Linked DNA regions of Homo sapiens: all the other regions are linked to region 3. The links are contacts of gene promoters, found by promoter capture Hi-C in blood cells and fetal thymus (Javierre and others, 2016). All regions are on one chromosome and are shown on one strand. The core of a region is centred on a gene start or on the middle of the fragment in contact, and the rest is flanking DNA. Distances in the headings are between cores, read along the strand shown. Region 1 overlaps NBDY (negative regulator of P-body association). Region 2 overlaps HUWE1 (HECT, UBA and WWE domain containing E3 ubiquitin protein ligase 1). Region 3 holds the start of VCF2 (VCP nuclear cofactor family member 2). Region 4 holds the start of SMC1A (structural maintenance of chromosomes 1A). Region 5 holds the start of KDM5C (lysine demethylase 5C). Region 6 overlaps PHF8 (PHD finger protein 8).

What was found. Contacts are between HindIII fragments. The CHiCAGO score rates a contact against its expected background, and 5 or more counts as called.
Region 1: a fragment that was not itself captured here is called in contact with the fragment with the promoter of VCF2 in region 3 in 1 of 17 cell types (fetal thymus); the score reaches 5.4 in fetal thymus.
Region 2: a fragment that was not itself captured here is called in contact with the fragment with the promoter of VCF2 in region 3 in 2 of 17 cell types (total B cells and total CD4 T cells); the score reaches 8.3 in total B cells.
Region 4: a contact is called between the fragment with the promoter of SMC1A here and the fragment with the promoter of VCF2 in region 3, in 8 of 17 cell types (naive CD4 T cells, non-activated CD4 T cells, naive CD8 T cells and 5 more). The highest score is 10.4, in naive CD4 T cells.
Region 5: a contact is called between the fragment with the promoter of KDM5C here and the fragment with the promoter of VCF2 in region 3, in 5 of 17 cell types (neutrophils, naive CD8 T cells, total CD8 T cells and 2 more). The highest score is 9.2, in neutrophils.
Region 6: a contact is called between a fragment that was not itself captured here and the fragment with the promoter of VCF2 in region 3, in 1 of 17 cell types (total B cells). The highest score is 6.0, in total B cells.

The regions. Positions count from the first base shown.
Region 1 is chrX:56,761,461-56,766,154 of GRCh38, reverse strand. The region is part of intron 2 of NBDY (negative regulator of P-body association); the gene reads right to left. Among named protein-coding and RNA genes, the nearest start is that of NBDY, 35 kb to the right of the region's middle. RefSeq lists enhancers at 1,539-1,898, 1,894-2,395, 2,359-2,478, 2,499-2,548. The HindIII fragment of the contact is 2,994 bases long and covers 699-3,692 here.
Region 2 is chrX:53,673,278-53,677,475 of GRCh38, reverse strand. The region is part of intron 3 of HUWE1 (HECT, UBA and WWE domain containing E3 ubiquitin protein ligase 1); the gene reads left to right. Among named protein-coding and RNA genes, the nearest start is that of HUWE1, 11 kb to the left of the region's middle. The HindIII fragment of the contact is 9,468 bases long and covers 1-4,198 here.
Region 3 is chrX:55,158,789-55,163,394 of GRCh38, reverse strand. VCF2 (VCP nuclear cofactor family member 2) reads left to right here and starts at 2,210. Exons shown (of 3, transcript NM_001166701.4): 1 at 2,210-2,258; 2 at 4,167-4,266. The coding sequence starts at 2,239. RefSeq lists enhancers at 1,421-1,921, 1,922-2,422, 2,248-2,547. The HindIII fragment of the contact is 5,872 bases long and covers 513-4,606 here.
Region 4 is chrX:53,421,193-53,425,472 of GRCh38, reverse strand. SMC1A (structural maintenance of chromosomes 1A) reads left to right here and starts at 2,819. Exons shown (of 25, transcript NM_006306.4): 1 at 2,819-2,981. The coding sequence starts at 2,873. RIBC1 (RIB43A domain with coiled-coils 1) reads right to left here and starts at 2,600. Exons shown (of 8, transcript NM_001031745.5): 1 at 2,469-2,600; 2 at 2,071-2,159. RefSeq lists enhancers at 2,512-2,561, 1,716-2,687, 2,852-3,031, 3,222-3,271, 3,392-3,571 and 1 more. The HindIII fragment of the contact is 3,638 bases long and covers 1,890-4,280 here.
Region 5 is chrX:53,221,947-53,226,520 of GRCh38, reverse strand. KDM5C (lysine demethylase 5C) reads left to right here and starts at 1,314. Exons shown (of 26, transcript NM_004187.5): 1 at 1,314-1,781. The coding sequence starts at 1,632. It also overlaps a transcript of IQSEC2 not described here. RefSeq lists enhancers at 993-1,042, 920-1,214, 1,053-1,432, 1,673-1,772. The HindIII fragment of the contact is 15,929 bases long and covers 1-3,006 here.
Region 6 is chrX:54,015,216-54,019,535 of GRCh38, reverse strand. It overlaps PHF8 (PHD finger protein 8), which reads left to right. Exons shown (of 22, transcript NM_015107.3): 5 at 1,715-1,875; 6 at 2,800-2,941. Among named protein-coding and RNA genes, the nearest start is that of PHF8, 27 kb to the left of the region's middle. The HindIII fragment of the contact is 157 bases long and covers 2,704-2,860 here.

The DNA.
Region 1 (4,694 bases), core at 946-3,445, 1.6 Mb before region 3:
TTACACTTACAGCATCCAGAAGGAGAATGGGAAATAACAATGAGCCATGAGGTATTGGGTAAAGGGTGCGTTCACCATGACATTTCACTTAAAAGTAACACGTGGGTAGCCTTTTGGTGGACCAGAGGGACTAAACTCATGACCTTCATCTGTGCTCCTTAAAGAACGAATGTGAAGCTTTCTCCAGGCCTAATTCTGCAGAGGGACATCCCACATCACCAAGGAGCAAAAGAAGAAGCAGTCTGCTAGAACACGTGCCCACCCAGATCCGCAAGTGAAAGGAAAAACAGAAGCAGAATCAGAAGCAGAAGCAAAAGCAAAAAAAGAAAAAGAGGCAAAGGAGAAGGAAGTGCAGGGGGAGGGGGAGGAGGAGTAGAAGGAGGAAAAAGAAGAAAAAGAAAAAGGAGGAGTAGGAAGATAAGAAGGAGTTGGAGGAGGAGGAGCAAGAGGAGAAGGAGGAGAAGGAGAAGAATTAAAGAAGAGGGGTAGGAGGAGGAAGAGGAAGAAGAATCAGAAGGAGAACAGGAAGTGAGAGGTCCATGCCACTGTAGCTGTCCCGAAGGATCTAGTTTAGGAGGGCCTCAACGCGTGGTGACATACAACGAGGGGCACGGAGCCACTTCTGACATCCGGCTTAAAGGACACACAACCAGGAAGCGTCTTGTTGATGGGGTATTTCCTGAGTAAGATCAAAAGCTTTGATCCACAAGTAGGCCTGCAGAAGCTACAGAGAACACAGGTGCTGGCTGAACCTTGCCCTGAAGATGTCATCAGCTGACTGCAAGGGGCTACCAAGCCCCAAGGCTACAAGGCCAAGGCAGGGAAGGACCGCCCAAAAAAGAATAAGATGAAAAACGGGGAGGAATTGGACACCAGGGAAAAGAGATAATCAGCCACCCACTGCAATATGGAGACAGGGCAGAAAGGAGAGGGAAACGCCAATTTCTCCTCGCAGGGGTCAGCTAGAGTCCTACTAATTTCCTTAGGAAAAGTAAGCCTGTTTTCCCTAACGGTGTCCCCGCGCCCAGCTGACCCTGCCTTCCAGTCTGCTCCTGGAGCAGAAGTGGAGAAAAAGTAAAGAGAATGAAGAAGAAAAAAGTGAAGGGAGAAAAACTCCAAAAGTACACAAAGAATCAGTGAGCAATGAGATTGACAGCGAACTGCAATGCAAAGTGCCTCAGATGGACAGCTGGCAGCACTATGAGTGGCCTCTTGTGGCCTCACAGAGGAAGAGCCACCAGCCAGGAGAAAGCATCAGCCCCTCAAGCCCGGGTCTGCACCGCGTGGGCACAGAGGCCTGTTGGGCCAGGAAGCTGCCCTGCTCCCTGTGGCCCCCACCCCTACCCCATCCTACTGTTGCCGGTTCCCCCAAAGTGACCACATAGATGGGAAGCCCTGCTGTAGGTGAGATGGGTGCTCCTAGGCCAGTTTCTTTTTTTTTTTTTTTTTTTTGGTGTTTGTTTTGGTTTTTGGCACCAAAAACAGAAAGAGGGAAAGAAAATGGGGGAAGGGAAAGACAAGACTGCTGTTTGTGGAGCCACATTGCCATCTAGTGGAAGTTGTTTCTGAACACAACAGGATGCACGGACACCTGCCTTCTGCCAGGAACAGAGATCAGCGAGGATGTGCTTAGACTATGTCTAAGCCTGGGTTTCCCCCACCGGGGTTCTGAGCCCTTGAAGGAAGTGTACCTGGCATTGGGACGCTTTGGAGAAGCAACTACTCTAGAGGCCCCAGGACAGAACAGCCAGGCAGCCCCAAGACCAGTCAGCCCAGAGGGCGGAGCTGGCCCGGCAGCCATGTTGAGATGGACATAAACGAAGCCACTGGCCGAGACGGGGGCCGTTTACTCTGGTGTCTTTTGTGGGGAGTTCCGGGGTTCCCTTGGCTGGAGCCACGTGTTGGCAAGGGGGCCCCGATCCTCCCGGGGAACAAAGGAGCTTCGGGATACTGGAGACGTGGCAACCCAGGACCAGCAGTACCTGGAGATGACCAGGGGAACCCATGGTGGGTCGCCCCTACCTGCCCTTTTTTTCGGAGAGAGCTGTGGAACCAGGGAGGCATCCTGGGAATGAGCACAGGCCAAGGGCCAGCTTGGAGTTCCTCTCTTGTCCTGCTTCAGCCTGGGGGCTCCATGCCGCCATCTCTTTTGCGCTCGTGGGGTTTCCCCAGCACTTGTGCCCAGCTGCCTCCGGTTTCTAGATACAGTTTCCGCTTGATGGCAGTATGGCTCCACAAACGCCAACTACAACTGTAACCCTGCCACTTCAACTCCAGGGCCTCCGCCTTTTCCCATGTGAAAAAAGGTAAAGAGGAAAGAGAAACAAAAAAAAAGACAGAGGAGTGAAAGGAATCAGTCACCTGGTCCCAGATTGATCACCAAACTCATGGGACCGTGTGACCAAGGACCAGGACCAGTAGGCTGGAGATCCTGTGGGAATCCTGTTTAGGGAGCCAGCCTTTGCCCTTCCTTTGGCTCTCTGCAGGTTTCATGGCTCTTGCCCGTGCAGAAAGTAAACAACAAAAAACATGATCATTACTGGGACACCACAGGAGGACTAGGATCATAGGGCTACTGCCCCAGGACAAGGTGCTGGTCACCCAGCTGGCTTACACAAGGTTCTGCTGCAGGACTGGGGGTCCTACGAAAGCCTGGAGCTCCAGGTAGAGTTTACCGCCTTGGGCTGACACATGGAGGTCATCAAAATAGGTGGACTGCTCAACTGGAAACCACAGGGCCTGAAGCAGGAGTATCTCTCAGAGAGGACACTCAGCAACTTGCTCAAGTCTGACTCTGCTCAGGCTGTCCTGGGTTTCACACAGATGGGGGTGGGAGGAGGGTGGCTCAGGGGTGCTGGGGAATGCCACCACACACCACAGATTCTTATGGCATCACACAGGGCCAAGGCTCCCAAGGGAACTCTCTCTGTCTCTAACACAAAGTGAGGTTCCTTTTTAAGCAGCTTGACCCAGGATGCTCCAGTTTTACACCAGCTGCTGGATCCTATCTGTTAACAGACTTCCCACATTGATTCTCAGGAGAAGGCGAGAGTTGCCCATCAATCAATGGCATGATGGCCCAGGCCTGGAGTCAGGAATTCTCCCCTGTCTCCTGTTCCCTTTGCACATTTAGAACCTGTGTGGGAGAAATTGTAGGCAGTCTCGTGCCTGTGGTGGTGTGTATGTGTCTGTGTGGGAGAATGCTTGGGCCTGCACCCCTGTGCCCCTGTGAGGTTTCTTGTTTGTGTGTCTATGTGTGTGTTTGTGTGTGTCTGCATGTGTCTCTGTGTGCGGGTGTGTTTGTGATTTCATTTCTGAGGTCCCTAGTGAGTGTGTGTATGTGTATCTGTGTCTATGGTTTGTGGGTGCCTTCCTGTGTGAGAGTGGGTAAACTGGCACATGGCAGAGACAGCCTGCCTGTATACACTGAAATCCGGATAGTTGTGTTCACATGGCTTGACTGGAAGGAGAGGAAATGGGGGAAAACTTGCTGAGGCTCCTACTGGCCAAGATTACATTATTAGATCGTCTTCAAGGAGAACAAGGTAGAAGGATGAATCGTGAGGTACTGGTAGGAAGTGCATTCAGAATGACATTTCACTTAAAAGTAACACATGGGTGGTTTTTTAGAGGACCAGAGGAACTGAACATGTGACCTTCATCTCTGCTCCTTTCAGAACAAAAGTGAAGCTTTCTCCTTGCCTAGCACGCAGAGGGACATCCCCCATTACCAAGGAGCAGAAGAAGCAGTCTCCATAGAACATTTGTCTCGCCAAGATCTGAAAGTGAAAGGAAAAGAGAGAGGAGGAGGAGGAGGAGGGAAGAAAAGAAGAAGAAAAAGGAGGAGGAGGTGGAAAGAAAGAAAGAAAAGAAAAGAAAAGAGAAAGAAAGAGGAAGAGGAGGAAGAGGAAGAAGAACCAGATGGAGAAAAAGAACAAGAAATGGCAGCTTCATGCCACCTCAGCTGTCCTGAAGGATAGAGTTCATGGGTGCCTCAATGCGTGGTGACATACATAACGAGTGACAAAGAGACAACAGTGACATCCCAGTGAAAGGACACACCACCAAGAAGCTTCTTGTTGATGGGATCCCTTGTGAGTCGGATCAAAAGCTTTGATCCACAAATAGGTCTGCAGGGGCTACAGAGGACAAAGATGCAGGCTAAACCATACCCTCTGGATGTCATCTGCAAACCGCAAGGGGCCACGAGCCCCTAGTCTACAAGGCCAATGAAGGGTAGGACCCCAGAAATGGGAGGAGAGAGGAAAAACGGAGAGGAAAAGGACACCAGGGAAAGGAGGTAATCAGCCACCTATGGCACTAGGGAGAGAGGGCAGAAAGGAGAGGGGCACCCCGATTACATCTGGCAGGAGTCAACTGAGGTCTTTCTAATTTCCTGAGGAAAAGAAGGCGTGTTCTCCCTAAATATGTTCGCTTGCCAACCGGACCCTGCCTTCCAGGCGAATCCTGACCTCCCCAAACCAGAAGTGGACGAGAAGTAAAGACAGTGAAGAAGAAAAAAGTGAAGGAAGAAAAACTCCAAAAGTATACTAAGAATCAACGTGAGCAATGAGGATGACAGCGAACAAGAATGCAGAATGTCCCAGATGGACAGGTGGCAACCCGAGTGACCTTCTGTGGCTTCACAGAGGAAGAGCCACCAACCAGCCAGGAGAAAGTGTCAGCCCCTTATG
Region 2 (4,198 bases), core at 1,665-4,164, 1.5 Mb after region 3:
GACTCCCATTTCTTACCAGGTGTGTCATGTTGTGCAAATTACTTAACTGCTTTGTGCCACACGGTCCTTCATCTGTAAAATGATGATAATACTGCCTGCCTTATAGAGTTCTGAAGAAATTTAGCTGAGTTAATGCATATAAAGTGCTTAGAACAATGGTTCTGAAACTTTAGGGAACATCAGAATCACCTAGAGGACTTCCTAAAAGATTGGCTGGTCCCCACTCCCAGAGTTTCTGATTCTGTAGATCTAGGAGGGGCCCCAGATTTTGCATTTCTGATAAGTTCCCAGGTGATACTTCTCTATTTCCTGCAAATTGGCAGCTGGATCCAGAGACTTGATAAATTTCAGGTTCGTTCCCTTTGGCAAATATATTGCGGGGGGGTGGGGTGGGGGGGTGTTCATTCACAACATTGATTATGTTACGATGACTTGAATTTTTTGGATCCATTAATTTGTTGGGGGGCTACAAAATGGTGACGTTCTGATGCTATCATTTTGTTTTCATCTGTTAGCTGGAATAATTTTGTTTCCCCTCATCTTTTATTTGGTTACTCAGCAATATAGTTTATATAGGAAGAGCAGGATAAATACTCAATTTTTTAAAACATTGCTTTCAAGATGATGAATTGGTCCCCTGTCATCTTCAAAAGGTTACACATATAAGTGTATATATAACTATGCATCCATAGATGTAAACATTTGATGGGTTTCAATACATTGCAGTTCTGATCCTTAGCGAAGTTCAAATTGCCCTTCTTGTGGCTAGTGGAACTCTCTTAAAGTTGGCTCCTGATTCTTACTGACATGCTCTCTAGTAGTCTTTGATAGCTTCCTTGCTATCTGGTATGTCAAGATGTTTCCAGGCGCATTCTTGTGCATTTCTGCCCCAGACCTGGAATTAGCTAATGGGATTAAGATAAAAGGTGAAGTCAAAAGAAATTCTGTTTTTGCCAAGGGTAGCTTGGAACTTTCTATCAAGTTCCACTTTTCTCTTTCCACTTAACCTCCCTAGCCTGCCTCTTCATTCTTCTCTACCTTTTTATTAGAGTTAAGGTGGAAAGGTTTGAGAAGCCTTGATAATCATAGGAAGATCATGGAGCCCAGGCAGTTCCGGATTTGGGGCCTGGCCACTTACTAGGTCTGTCAGTTTGGGCAAGTTAACCTATATCAGTTATGATGTGGGGGGAAATACCTTATTCATATGGTTATTGGAATTAAAGAGAAAATGTAAGGTGTTAGTACATGGTAGGTGATCAGTAGATGGTAATTTATTTAATGTACTATTTTACTTAACTCCTTCAACAGCTCAGAGGTGGGCAGTCAGGGTGGTGAAAATAATGGCCATTTAACAAAATGTGTCTGGACCCTTTAGGTCTGTGTGGGATCATCAGTGGTGAGGCAGGATAGGGTTTGTTCTTGAGTTATTTTGGGTCTGAGACTTTGGCCAGTGATAACTGAATGTTCCATAGAGTAGTTTTTCACTTTGGAACTCCTTAGGAGTCACATTTATACCCTCTGAAGGGTCTTAGCTAGTTCTGTAATGTGTATTACATTGGTTACCTTGATCTCTCTCCGTCTATACTGGCCCCTCCTATTCAAGGTGTTCAAGGTTCTGTTGTAACCTTAGTAACCTATAATAAGTATTCCTAATAGTCATCAGTATCACCACTGTTAACACATTTGGGCAGCACCATGCATGGCAGGTCAGCAAACAGGTAAATCTTATTTTTTTAAACATTACACATAATATCTAAAGTATAGTTTGTGGCATGTAATAAGTGCTGCTGAATAAATGGAAGTCATTGTTCAGTTTTTAGCTTAATATATCTTTTTTTTTCTTTTAACATAACATTTACTGAATGTTGCTAAGTATAAGGAGTAAGGGACATAAAATGAATGAGACTTGGTCTCTGCCCTTGAGAAACTCACAGTCGAGTTAAGGACTGTGAAATCATGTTTAAAGTTCCTTAGCCTTTTCCTTTGTGTCATCATTTCTTCCCCTGCACTGTCTATGCATGATATAGCCTGTCCATTGTTTCTCACAGCTTTCCTAATTCTGTGTGCCTCCCCAGCCTTTGAGACTGCTGATATGTGAGAAAGCCAACAATTGTCTTCTATTAATACAGGGTAATATCAAGAAAAACCTTTGGGCCAATATTGGATTTCAGAGTGGCATGTGCAGTTGACATTACAATACCAGTTTATGGTCTTTAGATGGGCCTGTACACCTGGGCTCCAGCCTCTTTCCTGTGCCTTTAAACTGCCTTACTTCCATCTTTCCTCCCCTATACCCTACCCTTAATGTACTTGGTACATAAAAATAGAGGCTCCCATACCCAGGTAGTGATCAAGTACAATGTAAAGAAACAGCTGTACTTCATATAAACTAGGATTCGAGTGGGCCTAGGGTATATCACTAAATTTCCATTCTTATCTATAAAACAGTAATCGGAAAGCCTATTTCATAGGTTGCTGTGAGCATTAAAGCGAGATGATGTATTTTTAAATGCTTGTAAAGTACGAAGATAAGGTCATTATAATTTATATAAAATACTTAGTAGCTATGTTACTTGGGGCAAATTACCTCATCACTGAGCCAGTTTCCTCATCCTTTAAATGAAGATGGTGATATTCATTTAACAAATATTTATTGAGGACGTAGTCATTGCAGCTACATCCTGGGAATACAAAGATAAGTGACTGGAGAATGTAGGACAGTGTGGTCTAGGGGAAGGAGACTTGCAAATCACACAAAAGGGTCAGTATGGTAATATGAGGAATGAACAAAATGTGCTATAGCAGTTTACAAGAAGGCATCAGAGAATGTCACAGAGTTTTGTTAGGGTTAAGCAAGATAAATGAAAAGTACTTCATGAATTCAAAAATGCTATACAAATAAGTTAGTTAAACGTACCCCAAATGAATCAATAGTCTCAAACCATTATTGTTTCATTTCTTCACAAGACTTACTCTTTAGATGCATTTATTTCTTTGAGCTAGATTTTATGACCTCCTTAAGGGTAACCTGTAGTAGAGTATCCTGAAAGTTAATGCTTTTGTCTAAAAGGATTTTTTTCATCCATTTTATCATTTTCTAGTTTTTAATCACTGAATTCAGGAAAAACTAGAAAATGTGTGCATATTTGGGGAGAGGATATACATAATTCCACCACAATGTTTAGTCACTGTTAACATTTTGGTGTATTCACATCTTAATGATAAGGGTAGTGTTTAAGGAATAAGAAAAGAAATCTAGTAGGAAATTTTAAGGATAGGCATTTCCCAGAATAGGAAACTAAAAACGTCCACTAACAAGAAATGGTACTCAAACTAATAATCAGAAATGCAAATTTAAATAAGGTCATTTTTAGTCATTAGATTGATAAAAAATAATTTGATAATATCAAGTCATCGTAAAAGGTATAAGGAAGAGTCTGGCCTTATAATACTGCCTACAAGTGGCGTAAATTGATACAGCTATTTTGGAGGCAATTTTGGCAAGTTGCAAGAGAGTACATACTATGTGATGCTATTTATGTTTTAAAAAAAACCATGGCAAACTGACAACTTTATTTGGGAGGAGGGATCGTGGGGAACTTTACCTTTTTCTGTAATATGTGCATTTCTACTTCTGAAAAATATACTGAGAAGTACAGAGAATAATACAACAATCCCTGTCCCTACCCCCACTCCAGAATTGATCATTTTTAACATTTATTTTTGCCTTACATTTTTTTGTGGAGTTGGAAGTAACACAAGTTGAGTGTCCCTAATCCAAAATTCAAAATGCCCCAAAATGAGTTTCAACACGATGCCACAAGTGGAAAATTCTACGCCTAAGTACTTAACACTTTGTTTCATGAGCAGAATTATTAAAAATATTGTATAGGGTACAACGAACATTATTTGGGTGATGGTTACACTAAATGTCTAGACTTCACTACTGCACAATATACCCATGTAACAGAACTGTACTTGTGCCACCTAAATTTATACGAGAAATTGTGTAAAATTACCTTCAGGCTGTATGTATAAGGTGTGTATGGAACATGAATGGATTTCATGTTTAAACTTGAGCCGCATCCTCAAGATGTCTCATGATGTATAGGCAGATATTCAAGAATCTGAAATCTGAAATCCTGCTGGTCCCAAGCACTGGATAGGAGATACTTAACCTGTATAGGTAAACAGGAGA
Region 3 (4,606 bases), core at 961-3,460:
TCTGAAGGAAGGCTAACTTATCTCCCAAATCCTGCTGGTGATGCTGATTTGCTCACGTATGTCTGTGGCTGGTGTAACTTGCATTTTTGTCTCTCTCATCTTGGTCAGAATCTGGTACTCCCTGGCTGACTCAGCCTCAGCCCATGTGTGCTAGCTTCTGCAGACCCCTCTGAATCTGGGCTTCATCCTCCCTTCAGCCCCTGGCCAGGGTTGTCCACTCCACAGCCTCAGCTGCAAGGTAACCTAGTCCTTATCTGGCTTAAGCTTGCCCCATGGTAGCACCCCTGGCTCTTGAATCAGCCACTTTCCATACCCTCCAACCCCTCCACCTTCCTCAGAGAATGCAGCCCCTTGGGGTCTCACCTACAACACAGCAATAACCAAGATCAGCTCTTGAAAGCAAAATCCCTCATTTCTAACCATCTATTTGCCCACTTTGTAGACGATAGCATGATCCGATAGACATGGAGAACATGGTGATTCAAGTAAAAGGAATGATCATTACAAAAGCTTGTTCCTTGAGAATGTGGAAGGGCATGGGATCCAAGTGAAGGGTGTTAAGGAAAAAAAATTATTCATGGCATTTGTTAAAGAACGGTAAGGCAGACTTCATTCAGGACCATCAAGATAGGTGTAGGGACCACTGCTATGGGGTTTTGCAGTGAAGGGAGAGAAACTGGGTTCCACTCCAAATACAACAACGAAAAGTGGAAATTTATAGCCAAGGAGCAGGGTGGGGAGCAATGGACGGAAAATTACTAAGAGGAAACACCACGGGTAAGGGGGTATTGTGGCTAAATTGAACTAACAGGATTGTTGGTGAAGGTGGGCCAGGGTGACTAGACATCACCTGGGGGATGAGGAACCTAACTGAGATATTGATGATGGGAAATTCTAACTAAACTGACTTAGCAGGATTCTTGTTAAAATTGCACAATGCAGCGACAAACATGGCAGTCTAAAAGTCCCCTGTCCAGGGCTGTCTACTCCACAGCCTCGGCTGCAGGGTCACCTAGCCCCTAGCTGGGTTAGGCTTCCTTTATGGCATGATCTTTAGTTCTTGAATCAGCCACTTTCCACATCTTCCCTTCCATCCTCAGGGAATGCAGCCCCCTGTGAGATCACCTACTTAACAGCAAGAACCAGGATCAGCCTAAACTCTAGCACTCCCTTTGCCAACTTTTTAGATAATAAATACAGATAGAGGAACATGATAATTCAGGAGAAAGCATAACTGCAAAGGATGATCCCTTAAGAAGGTGGAAGGCATAGGATCCAGGTGAAGGGCCTGGTCTCAAGTAGGATCCTGTCTCTTCCTCCAGGGAAGCAGCCAAGATTATAAGTGCAGGTCTACTGCTGTTGGGAAGTGGTGTGAATTCTTCTCTGATTGCTTCTATTTTCTCAAGGGAATATCAGTGAATATCATGAGAAAATTGGGTGCTGGTGCTTGTGGAGGGATCTTGTAAGTAGACTAGACAGAGAAGGTACACTTGTGGAGGGTGTACATTGTTTGTCTACTTGGCGGCGGGGGGACTGCCAGGAGAGTAGGGAGGAGAGAGTTAATAGCTTTGGGTAAGCTGGCTAAGGAAGGTGAATGGTGAGGAACGCGGTTGTGGTTAGTGGAGAGGAGGCCTCCTTGAGGCTAAAGGCTGTGGATGCTGGGGCACTGGAAGAGGTAGCTGTTAGGACACGATCGGGTGCTGCCCGTTATGAGAATGGGGGATGCAAGAAATGGACATCGTGGAGGGGCGCGGTCTTTCCTGAGGCCCAGGGCATGACCGCGGGCAGAAGAGACTTAAGTGGGGGGAAGGAGACCCCCCCGAGGACGGAGAGGCGCCGGCCACGGCCTGGTCAGCCCCGGGGGCGCTGAGGTCGCCGAGGAGGATCAGCGGTGTGAGGGCTGCGAGGACAGGGCGTGTGCCACGTGAGAAGCGTGTTCAGAGGCTGGCTGGGTGGGAGGAGAATGTCCATGGGATTGGCACAGGTCTCGAACATGGGGCGGCTCGGGCAGTCGCGCAGCAGAGCCTGACCCTCAGCGGATCGTCCCTCAGGCGTCAGCTCCCAACTGCAGGGAAGGGAGCCTGCGGCGGACCCAGAGGAAACAGGAGCCGACCTCCCCGGGCTCCGATGCGCAGGCCCAGAGCCCGTCAATCCTTGGCCAGCCCCGCCCTCCGGGCTGCGTTTTTCCGGCGGCGCAGGAACTTCCTGCGCGGTTGCTATGGTTCCGAGGGCAGGACTATGGGAGGCTGCCCTGTACGGTAAGTTCGTCGGGGCCTTTCCGGCCGGTACCAGTCCGAGCTCTGGTCCCCACGGTCATCACGCTTTGCTTTCTCAGCCAAGATCTCGGGGCTCAGGGCGGAAACGCAGCGGATATGTATTTTCTTCCGGGGTTGGTGGCGCTCGGCTCTCATGACCTGCAGGTGACAGTGTTGGCCGGTGGCGCGGCCCTGCTTGCCTCGTGCCCCGCCCTTCGTGCTTGAAAAAAAATCCCGCGAAGCCTTCTCCGAAAGAACATGCTGGTTCTTTGGTTGTCAGTGCCTTACAAGCCCTGGAGGCGGGGGTGAGGTGGGGATGTGGTCCCTCGCGAAAACTCAGTCAGTGGACAATAGCATTCTGTTTTTCAAATTGGCATTTCCTCGGTGAGGCTGCTAGGTACCCTAGCAACTGGTATTTCTGTTTCTCTGATTGGTTTTGTCATCTTTCTCCACGTGTTACTGGGGTTCTATGGACCTTTATCAATGTATTCTTTCATTACAAACGTCTCTGAATCTCATGGTAGAAAACTTGGTTAGACTGTTAAAGCGTAATAAAGGAAACCAATCTTATCCACAGTCCGATCACCCAGCCGTGACCATTAATCATATTCTGTGATAAATTTCCTTAGATGTTTTTCATTCGTAAAGTTGCATTTTAAAAAATGAGATTAACATTGTTTCATGAACATTCCGCTTTTTAAACTCAGCTTCACACTTTGAAAAATCATTTTCATAGTATTACTCTGTTTTAAAAACAATGCAAACGTATTGTAAGCTGTTGAAAGTTTCAGTAAAACTTGAGCGCAAAATACTCAAATACTCAAAATACCATGATCAAAGACAAACATCACCATGCTCCCTAATGAAGGCAGAGCTGTGGCATGTGTTTGTTTCACTCTTTTATCCTGGCACCTGGAGGAGTGCCTAGCACTTAGTGGATGCTCAATAAACATTGTGAAATAAAATAATATTTACACCCGGTCATTTTTTCTTTATATATAATCAATCATTTCATAATGGAGTGTAATATAGGAGCAGTTTTCTACGTGATTTTTTATTTGGCATTTTGTACTCAGTACTCAGTCTCCTAGAGTCTCCTAGTACTCAGTCTCCTAGAGATGAGAATTGATTAAAGAGTAATGAAATTATAAAAATGAGTAAACTCAGCCATTCTTAGGAGTACCAAAAACTCAAAAGTAAGTCTCTAAGCAAATGTCTGGTTAATAATAGAGTGCTGTGAAAACTATGTCAAACGCTGCAATCTGATTACTTATTGACAAGGAACTTGAAACTGAAGATGTAATCTTACCAATCATTGAAAACAATTTTGAGAAAAGAATGTTTCAAGGAAGTAATCAGCCACAATCTCATGGTGACAATCTAGTGGAGTAACTATGTCATAATATTAGCTGGTATAGCAACAGTAAGTGCCTAACCACATTCAGCATACAAGAAATATCTCTTCAGTGTCGCTACACCACTGGCATAAGAACTTAAGAGTAGACACTGGCAGACACACATGTCTTACGATCTTATTGAAGGAGTTAAAAATCACTTACCCTGGAATTGTAACTTCATGGAGTCAAAACAATGAAACTAATTAGGTAGATTTTGAAAACTTAGCTATTAAATTCCTCATATTCTTTATTTTCAAGGATCATTTAAGGTTATGAAAATTATTTCTAGAAATGAAATGCACAGCTTGGCTTTACTTAGAGTTCTTGTATTACATTTTTTTATCTTCATGCCTGGTAATGGAGTACTTATATGACTTTTATATCTTGGGATAGCAGATAGTGACATTTTTTCAGACAAGTTCTCATATATGTATGTTGTCACGGCTTTACAATTTAAGCATCCAAAAGATCAGTTGTTTCATGTAACAACTCTCTCTTTACAATTTATTTTCAGGAAAAGAAGAAGAAATGGCAGTAAAGAGGGCAACCATCATTCCACCCAGCCCAAAAGGAATAAGAGAAACCCTATCTTTCAGGATTCTCAAGATACAGAGGTAGCAAGTATGGTCAGATTGCCTCTATTTCATTCATTGCCTACACTAAATTATCCAATTTGTGCTCCATAATGAAAAGAAATGTATTATTCCAAGAAACCTTCATAAAAGTTTTCTTGCTTGATTACAGTGGCTTTTGAGCTGGAGCTTTAAATTATGATATAGTATCTCACAGAAAATGGAAAAGAAGCACAGAAAAACTTTGCTAAACATAATCAGGAGGAATTAGCCCCTGTAATTTTGTCCCCTCATATGAGCAGGGAATAGTAGTCTTACTTCCCTTCTTTTTATATGGAAAACATATTTTCTAGTACATAGTGATATGTTATTAGCTGGAAGG
Region 4 (4,280 bases), core at 1,570-4,069, 1.7 Mb after region 3:
TAAATTTGCCTGTGTTCCTTCATATTTTGGGAAGCTCACTTTTGGCATGTAACCCAGCCAAAGCTGCAGCCAAAAAAACTTTAGCAAACATAAATCTGATCATGTCTCTCACCTGCTTAAATCCTCCACTAGCTTCCCACTATACTTAGAATCAGATCCAAACTCCTTACTGTGGGCTTTCAAGATCTAGTTCCTGCACACCTCTCCAATTTGTCTCAAACCACTGTCTCCCTTGCTTACAGTGCTCCAGGCAAGCTGATCAAGTCCTCCAACACAGTAATTGTTCCCACCCCGGGGCCTTTGTATGTGCTGTTCCTTTGTTTGGAGCGTGATTCTTTAATTCCTCCTATAGCTATTTGGATCTTTTTGGTGTTTTGTTTTGTTTTCCATTTTGTAACTGTGAAGTAGTTGAACATATATGCCCGGCTGATTTTTGTATTTTTAGTAGAGATGGGGTTTCACAGTGTTAGCCAGGATAGTCTCAATCTCCTGACCTTATGATCCACCCTCCTTGGCCTCCCAAAGTGCTGGGATTACAGGCATGAGCCACCACACCTGGCCCCATTTAATTTTTTTTAATATAGATGGGGTCTCACTATATTGCCCAAGCTAGTCTTGAACTCAAGCAATTCTCCTGCCTCGGCCTCCCAAAGTGCTGGTATTACAGGCATGAGCCATTGTGCCCGGCGTCACTTAGGTTTTTAATCCACTTGGAGTTGCATTTTGTGTATGGTGTGAGATAAGGATCCAATTTAATTTTCCCCCCAAGTGCCATCTCATCTTTTTTAAATTTAAAATTTTATTTTATTTTTGGCCGGGCGCGGTGGCTCACGCCTGTAATCCCAGCACTTTGGGAGGCCGAGGCAGGTGGATCAGGAGGTCAGGAGTTCAAGACCAGCCTGGCCAACATAGTGAAACCCTGTCTTTACTAAAAATACAAAAAAATTAGCCAGGCGTGGCAGTGGGCACCTGTAATCCTAGCTACTTGGAAGGCTGAGGCAGAGAATAAAATTTATTTTATTTTTAATTTGTTTTAGATGGGGTCTCTCTCTGTTGCCCAGGATGGAGTGTAGTGGTGCAATCATGGCTCACTGCAGCCTCAAACTCCTGGGCTCAAAGGATCTTCCTGCCCCAGCCTCCTGAGTAGCTGGGACTACAGGTGTGTGCCACCATGCCTGCCTAATTTTTAAAATTTTTTTGTAGAGATTGGGTTTTGCTATGTTACCCAGGCTCACCATCTCATCTTTTAAAAGGGAACAGTATTTCCCCATGGATTACATGAGATTGCTGTCTTTTAGCCATTTTATCCCCTCAGCCTGATTGTTTCTCCCAGCTGAACTTCATTTATGGCTCCCCTACTAGATTCCATCTACCAAGCTTCCTCCCTTTATTTATTTTTGAGACAGGGTATTGCTCTGTCACCTAGGCTGGAGTGAAGTGGTGCGGACACCACTCACTACAGCCTCAACCTCCCAGGCTCAAGTGATCCTCCTGCTTCGGCATCCTGGGTAGACCAGAGGTGAGAGCTGCCACACCCAGCTAATTTTTTAATTTTTAGTAGAGATAGGGTCTCACTATGTTGCCCAGGCTGGTCTTGAACTGCTGGTCTCAAGTGATCCTCCTGCCTTGGCCTGCCTCCCTCACGATGGGATTACAGTTGTCAGCCACCATGCCCAGCCACTTCCTCACTTTCCTGGACTTGTCCTAAGTCTTTAGGACTCTTTCTAGCCTTCGGACATAATTTAATAAATAGTTAAAGGAATAATTATGGCAACCACCAGATCCTTTCCATGTTTAAGTCTGAGAATGGCACCAACTTACCTACTGGTTTCACCTGCCATTACAGTATAAGGTCACTGAAGGGGAAGATTCAGCTGACATTTTAAGCTTCTTGGATTGCTAAGGCCCCTGCCTTATTAATGATAGAGAGCAGAGAGGGAAGAGAGGTAAGGTGGCATTGTGGTATAGAGCTGTGGGAATGGGATGGGGGAGAGGCATGGAGGCAGAGGTAGGTGGAGGTGGAGAGCGCTGGCTTAGGGACCCTGACTCCTGGGGGTTCACACAAAATACCTTTCTCAGTAAGGAATCCCGATTTTGAAGCTCTTAGGTTGGCTCTGCATGCAACTTTGTTCTTGGGTTACGGCGGCAGTTTCTGAACTCTGCTTGGTACAACAGGAGGGAGGCAGGGGATAGGGGTAGTATCTCAGGCCGTAGCCTTCCCCAGCCTGTATCCCTGTTGCCTGGGAGTAGCCCCAGTCCCATTCACAACCCGTCCGCCTTCGCAACCCGTCCCGCCACCAATCCCACCCCACCATTAGCAAAGTCTGAGCTCACCTAACACTGAATCCTCCCGTTGGCCCCTCCTTCCCGTCCAGCTCTCCGCTCCCCCCGGGTCCTTCCAATTCCCGACCCTGTCCTTGTCCTAGCCTTGAAAGCTGGCCAGGCTAAAGCCACAGCCGAGCTCCCACCTTCCTCTTGCCCTGAGGGGCATAATCCTGCTGTGACTTCTGTCTCAGCAAGCGTGAGCTCAGGTCTCCCCCGCCTCCTTGAACCTCAAGAACTGCTCTGACTCCGCCCAGCAACAACTCCTCCGGGGATCTGGTCCGCAGGAGCAAGTGTTTGTTGTTGCCATGCAACAAGAAAGGGGGGCGGAGGCACCACGCCAGTCGTCAGCTCGCTCCTCGTATACGCAACATCAGTCCCCGCCCCTGGTCCCACTCCTGCCGGAAGGCGAAAATCCCGTTAGGCCTGGACGTATTCTCGCGACATTTGCCGGTCGCCCGGCTTGCACTGCGGCGTTTCCCGCGCGGGCTACCTCAGTTCTCGGGCGTACGGCGCGGCCTGTCCTACTGCCGCCGGCGCCGCGGCCGTCATGGGGTTCCTGAAACTGATTGAGATTGAGAACTTTAAGTCGTACAAGGGTCGACAGATTATCGGACCATTTCAGAGGTTCACCGCCATCATTGGACCCAATGGCTCTGGTGAGATAAACCTGGCCGCGGCCCTGCGCACGTCCCGGCCTGGACCCCTTATCCGGTGCCGGAGTAGTACAACCCAGCCCATGTAACCTGAAACGTCGCGGACCCTTACGGGTTCCTTGCCCGTCCAGAGGGGGTTCTGCTCGAACCCACTCTCCCCGCGCGGGTGCTCTAACTCGAACCCCTTCCAGGTGTCACTTGCCGCTTCCTGCGCGGCCCCCGCCCCGGCCCAGTGGTACAGGCCGAGCTGCCAGTTACCCCGCCTACTTCCCCCTCCCGCCAAAGGAGTCGCGTCTGGAACCAGCTTCCCGCCAGCTCAGTCCTCCGCCGCGCGGCTCCCCGCCGGACCGGCCGGAGCCGGCTTCCCAGCCTTACTTGACCCCCTCCGGAGAATGTGGGGACGCTGGTAGCTCTCCCGTGGCCTTCGGTCCCAAACGGTGCACTTCTGTTTCAGCCCAGCGTCCTCTCTCGCCTCGCATTGGTACACTCCAACTCCTTTCTACTCTTCTCTGGAGGCGGCACTTTTGAATTTCAGACCCAGCGCTCCAGTCTTTAGAATGCTTGAGGTGTCGATCCCCACCCCCCACCGCTATGTCAGAGGTAGTTGCCTCGAACTCGCCCTTTTCCTACCACCGAAACCGTCAAAAGCCGAAATTAACTAATTTACCAAATTTGTTGAATGCTTATTGTTTATCAGGAGTTATTCAGTTGCAAGTTGTGGAAACAGCGGAGAATAGAATAAACCAACTCCATGCTCACAGGGAACTTATATTCCAGAGGGGAAAGAAGATAAGGAGAAAATAAGATGGTTTTAGGCTGTCATAAGTGCTATACAGGAAATGAGACAGGTGGATGTGATAAAGTGACTTAGGTGGTGTCTTTAGAAAGGGTGGTCAGGTAAAGCCTCTATTTTGTGTCTTCCCAACTCTAAACGATACACCGTGGATTCCTCTCACCTCAGATGTCCATTTGGAATCCTGCTGTATTCTTCCACCCCAGAGATGTTCTAGCTGAATGATATCCTAGCCTAAGAGGCTGCCCTTGCTGAAGTAGCACATACTGAGTACCTTTCCTGGAGACTGAGTGTCTCAACAGTGGCACTATTGACATTTCCAGCGAGATAATCCTTTGCTGTGGGATGTGCTCTGTGCATTGTAGGATGTTTAACAGCATCTCTGGCATCTACCTGCTAGATAACAGTAGCACCCCTGCTCCCCAGGCATGACAATCAAAACTGTCTCTAGACATTGCTAGATGTCACAGAGGGTGTGTGTGATTCCCCCAACCCCCCAACTTGTTTGA
Region 5 (4,574 bases), core at 65-2,564, 1.9 Mb after region 3:
ACTAAGGACATTTATTCATTTTTCTTTTGTTTACTCAACATTCATTTACTGCTTAACATGCCAAGTGCTAAGGATGTATAAGGCCACATGGTCCCTGCCCTTAAGGAATTCATAGTCTGATGGGGGAAAACAAAATTACTTAATCAGCATGTACGCAAGTACTCAAATATTTGCACAGTAGGTGTTCAAACTATATGCAGTAGGTCCACAGCTGATGAATGACACAGATGATCCTCCAATCAGTAGATGCCTGATGTATATGTACAAAGTACTGGTTTGATGATACTCATTCAAAGTACTGTAGTTGCAATGAACCTATTCAGAAACTGCTCAAGGAACATGCACACGATAGGACTAAATGTACATACAGTTGGTACCAAATGCACAGGGGCTATACACAATAAATACAATAAAAGTACACGGATGTTTGGTAAGTGCACTGTAGGCTCACAAATGGGCAAACAGGTGTTTTACACAGTTGACACTGGATAAATACGCCGTTGCTAAACATCCAATAGTTAAAGTATACATACACACAGGCTTATTTTGTAGGAGTATATGCCACAAATGTGTACATGGTAAAAGTGAATACAGAACAGTTGAAAGCGTTCATTAAAATGCTGACTCCCAGTGACTTTTGGGGGGTAAGAATCGAAACCCCATCTCTCTACCTGTAACCTTGGATGAAATAAAGATTTCCTTCCTTTACTTGGGACTCAGAATCCTAAAAATCCATAATCCCCGGGGAGTGAGCAGCTTCCTGCCTTCCTTATTTCAAAGCCCCAGAGGTGTCAGTGTCTAGAGCTGGAGCCTAGTACATCTCCCCCCATCCCGCGGGCCAGCATAAGGGGTCCTTTGCAATCAGGCTCCCAGAGCCGCCTTCCGCGGCCCATACCGTTAAGACCAGGGAGAAGGGACAGAGAACACTGGTGCGGGGCTAGCGACCTGGTTGAGGTCTGCGGGGGAGTGCCGGTTTGACTCCACCACCCACGGACACCAGCTCCTCTTCCGGTCTCCATAACGCGCATGCGCATCACTGGCCTTTAAACGTGCACCGCCGGTCCATCCGGAAAGACGATCCGGCAAACTAATTACAATCTTGTTCCTCCGCCGTTGCAATGAACTATTTTCTCTCAGTCCGGGGTGGTACTTTTGAGTAACCCCTTCCAAATAGAAACCCATACCAGCCTATTTAGCTCGGTCTCCACTATATGAAGGTTTCCTAGGGCTTGGTGTGACGCAACGTATACGAGGCTCGGAAGGACACCCCGCGGAAGGATCCGGTTTGTTGTGGTGTGGGGAGGGGAGACGCTGACAAACCAAGATGGCGGCGGCGGCGCTGAAGGCCGCGGCGTTTGGGAGGTAACTGTGGTGGCGAAGGCTGCGGTAGTGGGGAGGCAACCACACAGTTTGGAAGAAACGGAGCGGGACGAAGAGGCGGTAGCAGTAGAGTCAGCCTGAGACTCTCAGAGCACGACGGCCACACGCCCCCTTAGGCCCTCGGCGGGCGGCGGCTGCCCCGCTTAGGGCCTAGCCTCCGAGCATTGCCTCGGCTTCAAACAGCGGCGGCGCCATGAGTCCTTAAGGGCGGTCCAAGCCTCCCGATCCCTGGCCCAGACCTCGGGCCCACCATGGAGCCGGGGTCCGACGATTTCCTACCGCCACCGGAGTGCCCGGTGTTCGAGCCTAGCTGGGCCGAGTTCCGAGACCCTCTTGGCTACATCGCGAAAATCAGGCCCATCGCAGAGAAATCGGGCATTTGCAAGATCCGCCCACCCGCGGTAAGCCCCGGGGCCGGTTTTCGCCGGCGGCGAGACGGAATGAAGCAGTAGGATAGCCAGCGGCGAAGTCTGGGGCGGAGGGCAGCTCGAGGTGGGGAGAGGGGGTGGCTGGGACCGTTGTGGTTGCGGCGCGGATCGGAAAAAGGGTGTTGGGCCAGGGGTCCTCTCGTGGTGTGAGGCCCACAGGTGACCTGGAGTCAGAGATCCACCCCCACCCCGGCCCTTCAGAATCACTCCGGGTTTAAGACAGGGATTCCTAGTGGGCCGGAGGGAGTTCACAGAGAGGCACCCCGCACATCTCTTAGCCCGGGCCACCTAGGTCGAGGCTGTAAAAATAAGACGTTTCTCCAATCTGTTGTCATCACTTCCTTTAAGGCAGGCAGCATAGTATAGTATTAATAGAAAGATCGCAGTCCTGAAGGGAGACAGACTTGAGTTCAAAACTCCACTTTGAAGCTGAGCAGCTGTGTGACCTTGGGAAAGTAGAAGTAATCTCTCTGAGCCCGTGAAATGGATCCCAGAAATGGTTATTTAGAGGATTGAATTAAACTAGGTAGCGTCTGTATGTAGTACGCACTAGATAAGTGGTAATTATTGTGACTGTGAGGGTGTTTGATGTGGTCATTGGTTTATTCCTATGTAGGTTGACTCATATTTACTCATACCTTGCCAGGCCAATTCATCTATGATAATATCCTGGCCTGCTGGACCAGTCAGGAAATCAGTCTCACAGGGATTGCTCTGTCTCCCTTGAGGTGGGTTCAGGGAATTGTCCTCTTCTTTTCCTCGTTGAAGGCAATGTCAAGGCCTTTTCTGCACATCATCCCGCAGACTTGACTTCCTATGGAGATGTTTGGACCGGTCAGCTTGGTGGTGGGGTGTGAGTCCTTCTCAGAAGATTTCTACTCTCCTCTGGTCCAGGATGTAGGAGATCCCAGAGGATAGGGCACTCTTGGGCCCGCAGAACAGAATGGAGCCATGGAATTCTGTCCCTTTTGGAACATGATTGCCAGGGGTCAGCAACAAAGGCCATAGCTTTCCTCCTAGGCCTGGCTTCAGGCTAGAAGTCTCCCAAGGGCTAGGGCAAGCTGCTGCCTTGCTGATATGGTGGAAAAGTGATGATAATGTTCAGTGATCAGTTGGGATTCCAAGGGCAGAAATTGAGCTTTGCTGGAAAAGGGTGTTTTTGAGTGGGTGTCTCCTGGCTGAAATGGAATAGGAAGCTTCATTCCCACCTGAGGAGGGCACCACAGGCCTCCTTATCCAACTTGGTGCTTTCTGGTGCTCAGCCACAGATCTAGGATGGTTTCAGATAGATCCTCTAGGAGGTGTTGGGTAAGCGAATTTCTTCCTTCTTGGAGTCTGGCCACAGATTTCTGAGGTATCCTTGTCCATGGTGAGGGAGTGGCAGTGGGTAGAGGGTCAGGAAGGCTAGTGGAAGGGAGAGGCAGGAGTCCTGGGCAGCCTCAAGGAGGCACTCCCTGAAGTGGTTGGGCAAGCCTGTGGGAAAAAGAGGCATAGCTGACGTAGGGGGTAGTTGAGGCCTGAATTCCTTTTTTCTATCTTGGACTGACTTAGGCAGGCTGGCCTTGTGTAGGTGTTGTTACCCTGCTTTGGGGCATCAGGAAGGGGAAGAGTGACATGTCCCAGGTGTGCATGGCCAGCAGGAGGCCGTCCTTTTCACTGCTCAACAGTGTGCTTCTCTCTAATCCAGGATACCTGGCTCTCTGGTTTGGTTTTGTTTTTTCCTTCTCTATGGCAGCTCCTAGGCCACCTTTAGGCAGCTGGCCTTCTTCTGGTTGAAGTTTGAAGTACTCGCTCAAGTGATGCTTGGGCCCAGGGTGGGAACCTGTATATGGGTGGGTACCTGGGAATTGGAGGTTTGCTGGAGGAAGGATGGTTTGGGGCCTGAATTGCTGGGCAGGTGACTGCTACGCTTGGGAAAGATGGGTGGGAGGAGAGTGTGGGTACCCTGAGTAGACCCAGTGGAGTTTGGAAGGATCTTGCTTTCTTCATCAGGTAGCCAGCCTTTTTTTTATCACCACATCCCAGTAATACCAACATACATTTGGCATACAGTAGTCTGGAGATGAAGGCAGGCGGTTTGCAGGGCCTTCCCAGGTATCTGTTGCATCCATGGCTCCTGCCGTAGCATTCCAGGGCTGCCATTTCCTGTCAGGTGCTTGATGTTGCACTGATTGTCTAGAACTTGATTCAGCAGGAAAGAAGGGTGCCCGGAGTTTTGGGTTTGAGCACCTTTTTAGCTGGGTTACCTGTGCTGAGGGGAGTGCCCTATCCTGATGAGAGGCAAGAGGGCATGGGGAGCTTGTCTGGATTTGAGCCATACCATTTTGGCCTGCCTGTTTTTTTTTTTTTTTGTCCCTGCTTACTGAGCCCCAGATGTTTGCCACCTGCTTTGGCTGGTAGGGGCAGGGGAGTGTGGTCTGTGTATGCATGCAAAATATGAGTCCTCTAGCCCATTTTCTAAAAGTGTGTGTGCAGAAGAGGTCAACAGTTTTTCTTCTCTTTCACTGTCTCTCCCCCCCGCCCACGTGTATGCATGTATGTATGAACATTGATGTCTGGTGTAGTGCAAAGGCCTTGGATCAGAGGTCAGAAGACGTGGGTTCTTGGCCCCACCACTAACTCAGCATGTAATTTTGGAAATTTCACTTTTTTTCTCTGAGCCTCACTTTCCCCATTTATAAAATGAGAACATTGGTTTAGGTTACTTTAGGTTGATTTCACCACCCCAGCAGGAGCCAGGGCTCTGGGAAGGAGAGGTCTGCATAG
Region 6 (4,320 bases), core at 1,533-4,032, 1.1 Mb after region 3:
TACAGGTGTGAGCCACTGTACTCAGCTCACACTTGTATTTCTTTAATTATGAAGGAAATAAGTAGATTTTTTTTTTGAGACAGGGTCTCATTTGAGACAGGCTGGAGTCGGGTGGTGCAATCACCACTCACTGCAGCCCTGACCTCCCTAGCTTAATCCATCTTCCCACCTGCGCTTCCTGGGTAGCTGGGACTACAGGTGTGTGCCACCACGCCCAGCTAATTTTTTTTTTGTATTTTTTGTAGAGACGGGGTTTTGCCATGTTGCCCAGGCTGGTCTCCAACTCCTGGGCTCAAACAATCTGCCTTCCTTGGCCTCCCAAAGTGCTGGGATTACAGTTGTGAGCTATTGCACTCAGCCTTAGATTTCATACATTTATAAACCAGCTTGATTGTTTTCTCTGTGAACTACTTGCTTGTTTTATAGGCATTCTGTTGTGTTACTATTACTGATTTATAACAGCTTTCTTGGAGAAAATTTTAATTTCTATATGGTTAAGTTTATTACTATTTTTAATGACTGCTGGGTTTTTCCCAGGTTTTTCTACTCTTAAAGCTTTATTTTTTGGAATTTAATCTTTGGACCATCTAGGATTATGTAAAGAATGAGATAGGCAGGCCAGGCACAGTGGCTCATGCCTGTAATCCCAGCACTTTGGGAGGCTGAGGCGGGCAGATCACCTGAGGTCGGGAGTTCAAGACCAGCCTGACCAACATGTAGAAATCCCCTATCTACTAAAAATACAAAATTAGCTGGGCGTGGTGGCGCATGCCTGTAATCCCAGCTAGTCGGGAGGCTGAGGTAGGAGAATCGCTTGAACCCTGGAGGCGGAGGTTGTGGTGAGCCGAGATTGTGCCATTGCACTCCAGCCTGGGCAACAAGAGCAAAACTCTGTCTCAAAAAAAAAAAAAGAATGAGATAGGCATTGAGCTTGAGCTTAATATATTTGTCCCAACACAAGTTGTCAGAGTTGTCAAATACAAATCTTTCCTCCACCATGATTTAAAAGAAAACTATTTTCTGCACCATGATTTAAAGAAAACTATTTTCTTTCTTTTCTTTAAAAAAAAAAAAAAAAAAAAGACAGGGACTCTCTCTGTCACCCAGGCTGGAGTGCAGTGGCATGTTCAAAGCCCACTGTAACCTCAACTCCTGGGTTCAAGTGATCTTCCTGCCTCAGCCTCCCAAGTACGTAGGACTGTAGGCCTGCACCACCATGCCCTGCTAATTTTGAATTTTTTTGTGGAGACGGGTTTAGAAATGATGCCCAGGCTGAAACTCATTAAGTATGCACGTTGAGAAAGTTGTTGTATATGCATGTTGAGAAAGTTGTTGTAAAAATGTTGTTGTTTTGTTTAAATCAGTCTTTTCTCTTTGACAGTGTTTTAAATTGGGTAATGCTGCTCTTGGTTTGAACAAATCTGTCAAACTTGTCAGATGTGTCTTTTCTTTCTGGCCAGGCTGTTGACTGATTTCTTCTTGTCACCCAGAGAAGAGCACCATGTTGGCAGAATACTCCCCACCTCTGCCAGTGACCTGGTCTCTTGCCTTGGACAGATCATTTCTTCCCTGGCAGATGAGGTTTTTGGCATTAGTTGCCAGCTCACATTAAGTCCCCTCATAAAAACCCCACCTCTTGGGTGAGTGGCAGCCTCCAATAAGGCCTTTAGTGGGCAGGGCCTCAGGCTCAAGCTTTCTCTCCTGCGGCCCACAGCTCAGATGAAGTGATTCTGAAGCCCACTGGAAATCAACTGACCGTGGAATTCCTGGAAGAAAATAGCTTCAGTGTGCCCATCCTGGTCCTGAAGAAGGATGGGTTGGGCATGACGCTGCCCTCGCCATCATTCACTGTGAGGGATGTTGAACACTATGTTGGTAAGACACTACAGACCCTTTTAACTGTAACATTGTTCATTCCTGTCAAGATCTGTGTCCCTTCCCCTCCAATCTGTTTTTGCATTTCCTCTGTAACCATCTTGGGAATCTCAGGTGAAATGCCTTGTCCAAAGTCATTCTTTGGCAGAGATAGAGTCAAAATCCTAGTCTCCTCTTTGTTCTCCTTTCATGCATTCACTCATTCGTTTATCAGAGACAGGGTCTCGCCCTGTTGCCCAGGCTGGAGTACAGTGGCGCAATTAACTCACTGCAGCCTCCACCTCCTCCTGGGCTCCAGGGATCCTCAAACCTCAACCTCCTGAGTAGCTGAGACTACAGGGATGCACCACCATGCCTAGCTAGTTTTGTTTATTTTTTGTAGAGATGATGTCACACTATGTTGCCCAGGCTGATCTCCAACTACTGGGCTCAAGCGATCTTTCTGCCTCGGCCTCCCAACTGGGATTACAGGCGTGAGCCACCACGCCCAGCCCCTTCTCCTTTTAATAGTCCATAAAACCCCAGGTTGAGCTCCGTTTTTTACCTGGGAAGTTCTAGGGATCATTGTCTGTCTTCTGTTGAAATGAGAAAGCTTTTGACTGTTGTTCTCACATGCCACTTGTTGTCTGGGCATGAGTTTCTGGGGAGAGGAAGAGAAGAAATGGAGAAGCAAGGCCCAGGCAGATGGACTACTATGTGTGAGGCTGTGTGTCTGGTAGTTCCATTGCCCTAGCAGGGCACATAGATCTAAGGAAAGTGCGATGGGTTCCTTCCCCTGCCCCCCAAACAAACACACACATATATGTACAGTGTCAGTGGAGAGAAGCTTTGAGTGTAAGGCCATTCTAGGGACTGATGAGGGGACAAGAGAGTCTTCCACAGTCCCTGAGACTACTTGGTGCAGAACCTATCTCTTTACTCCAGGTTCTGACAAAGAGATTGATGTGATTGATGTGACCCGCCAGGCTGACTGCAAGATGAAGCTTGGTGATTTTGTGAAATACTATTACAGCGGGAAGAGGGAGAAAGTCCTCAATGTCATTAGTTTGGAATTCTCTGATACCAGGTAAGAGGTGCAGGAATAACAAAAAAACCTGACAAAGTGCCTGAAACTTGTGTGATATATCTAGTGTATATTCGTGTTTCTCTCTCTTTTTTTTTTTTTTTGAGACAGAGTCTTGCTCTGTCGCCCAGGCTGGAGTACAGTGGCACGATCTTGGCTCACTGCAACCTCCGCCTCTTGGGTTCAAGCAATTCTCCTGCCTCAGCCTCCTGAGTAGCTAGGATTACAGGCGCCCGCCACCATGCCTGGCTAATTTTTGTATGTTTAGTAGAGATGGGGTTTCACCATGTTGGCCAGGCTGGTCTCGAACTCCCTACCTCAGGTGATCTGCCCGCCTTGGCCTCCCAAAGTACTAGGATTACAGGCATGAGCCACCGCACCTTGCCTCGTGTTCCTTTCTCTTCTTCCTGGTGGTTTCTTCCTTTGGGATGGCGAGCTGGGTTATATTTTCTAGGGTAGCTGCTCACGTTGTAACAGTTGAGTCATATTTCTCCTCCACAGTTTCTAGCATTGGATAGATTACATAGTAGCTATTTTAATTAATTTTTGTCTCCTTTTTCAAGACCTTAGGACACCCTTCTTTGACCTTTTCCTCCTATATACAACAGTGCCACAGTCACTGTGTAACTGGTGGGATAGGTCCTCAGTTCCTGGAAATAGATTTACTAAAATTACCCCCATGTAGGTTTCTTACATTTAAAAAGAAAAAGAGAAACCTATTTACCTTTAAATGATTCTATCTGGACTCACACACACAGTAGATACGTATATAGTCTTCTCTTTGGGTCAGAAATGTGGGAAATACCAAGAAATCATAATGTATCTTTTTGCCCTTAGGAAACTTACTGTCTGATTATTTACATTTTTAACTTTTAATTTGTAGATTGATAGGAAGTTGCAAAAAAGTGTACAGGGAGGTCCTGTGTACTCTTTAGCCACTTTCCCTCAATGGTAACGTATTATGTAATTACGGTACAATATTAAGACCCTTGCTGTTGTGTTTTTTTTTTTTTTTTTTTTTTGAGACGGAGTTTCGCTCTGTCACCCAGGCTGGAGTGCAGTGGCATGATCTCGGCTCACTGCAAGCTCCGCCTCCCTGGTTCACGCCATTCTCCTGCCTCAGCCTCCCGAGTAGCTGGGACCACAGGCACCTGCGACCACACCCGGCTAATTTTTTATGTTTTTAGTAGAGACGGGGTTTCACTGTGTTAGCCAGGATGGTCTCGATCTCCTGACCTCGTGATCCACCCACCTCGGCCTCCCAAAGCGCTGGGATTACAGGTGTGAGCCACCGCGCCCGGCGCTGTTGTTTTTAAGATGCAAGGTTAAACAACCTGAGAGTGTTTAAAAACTGTATTTGTTTGTTTATACTTCACTTCATC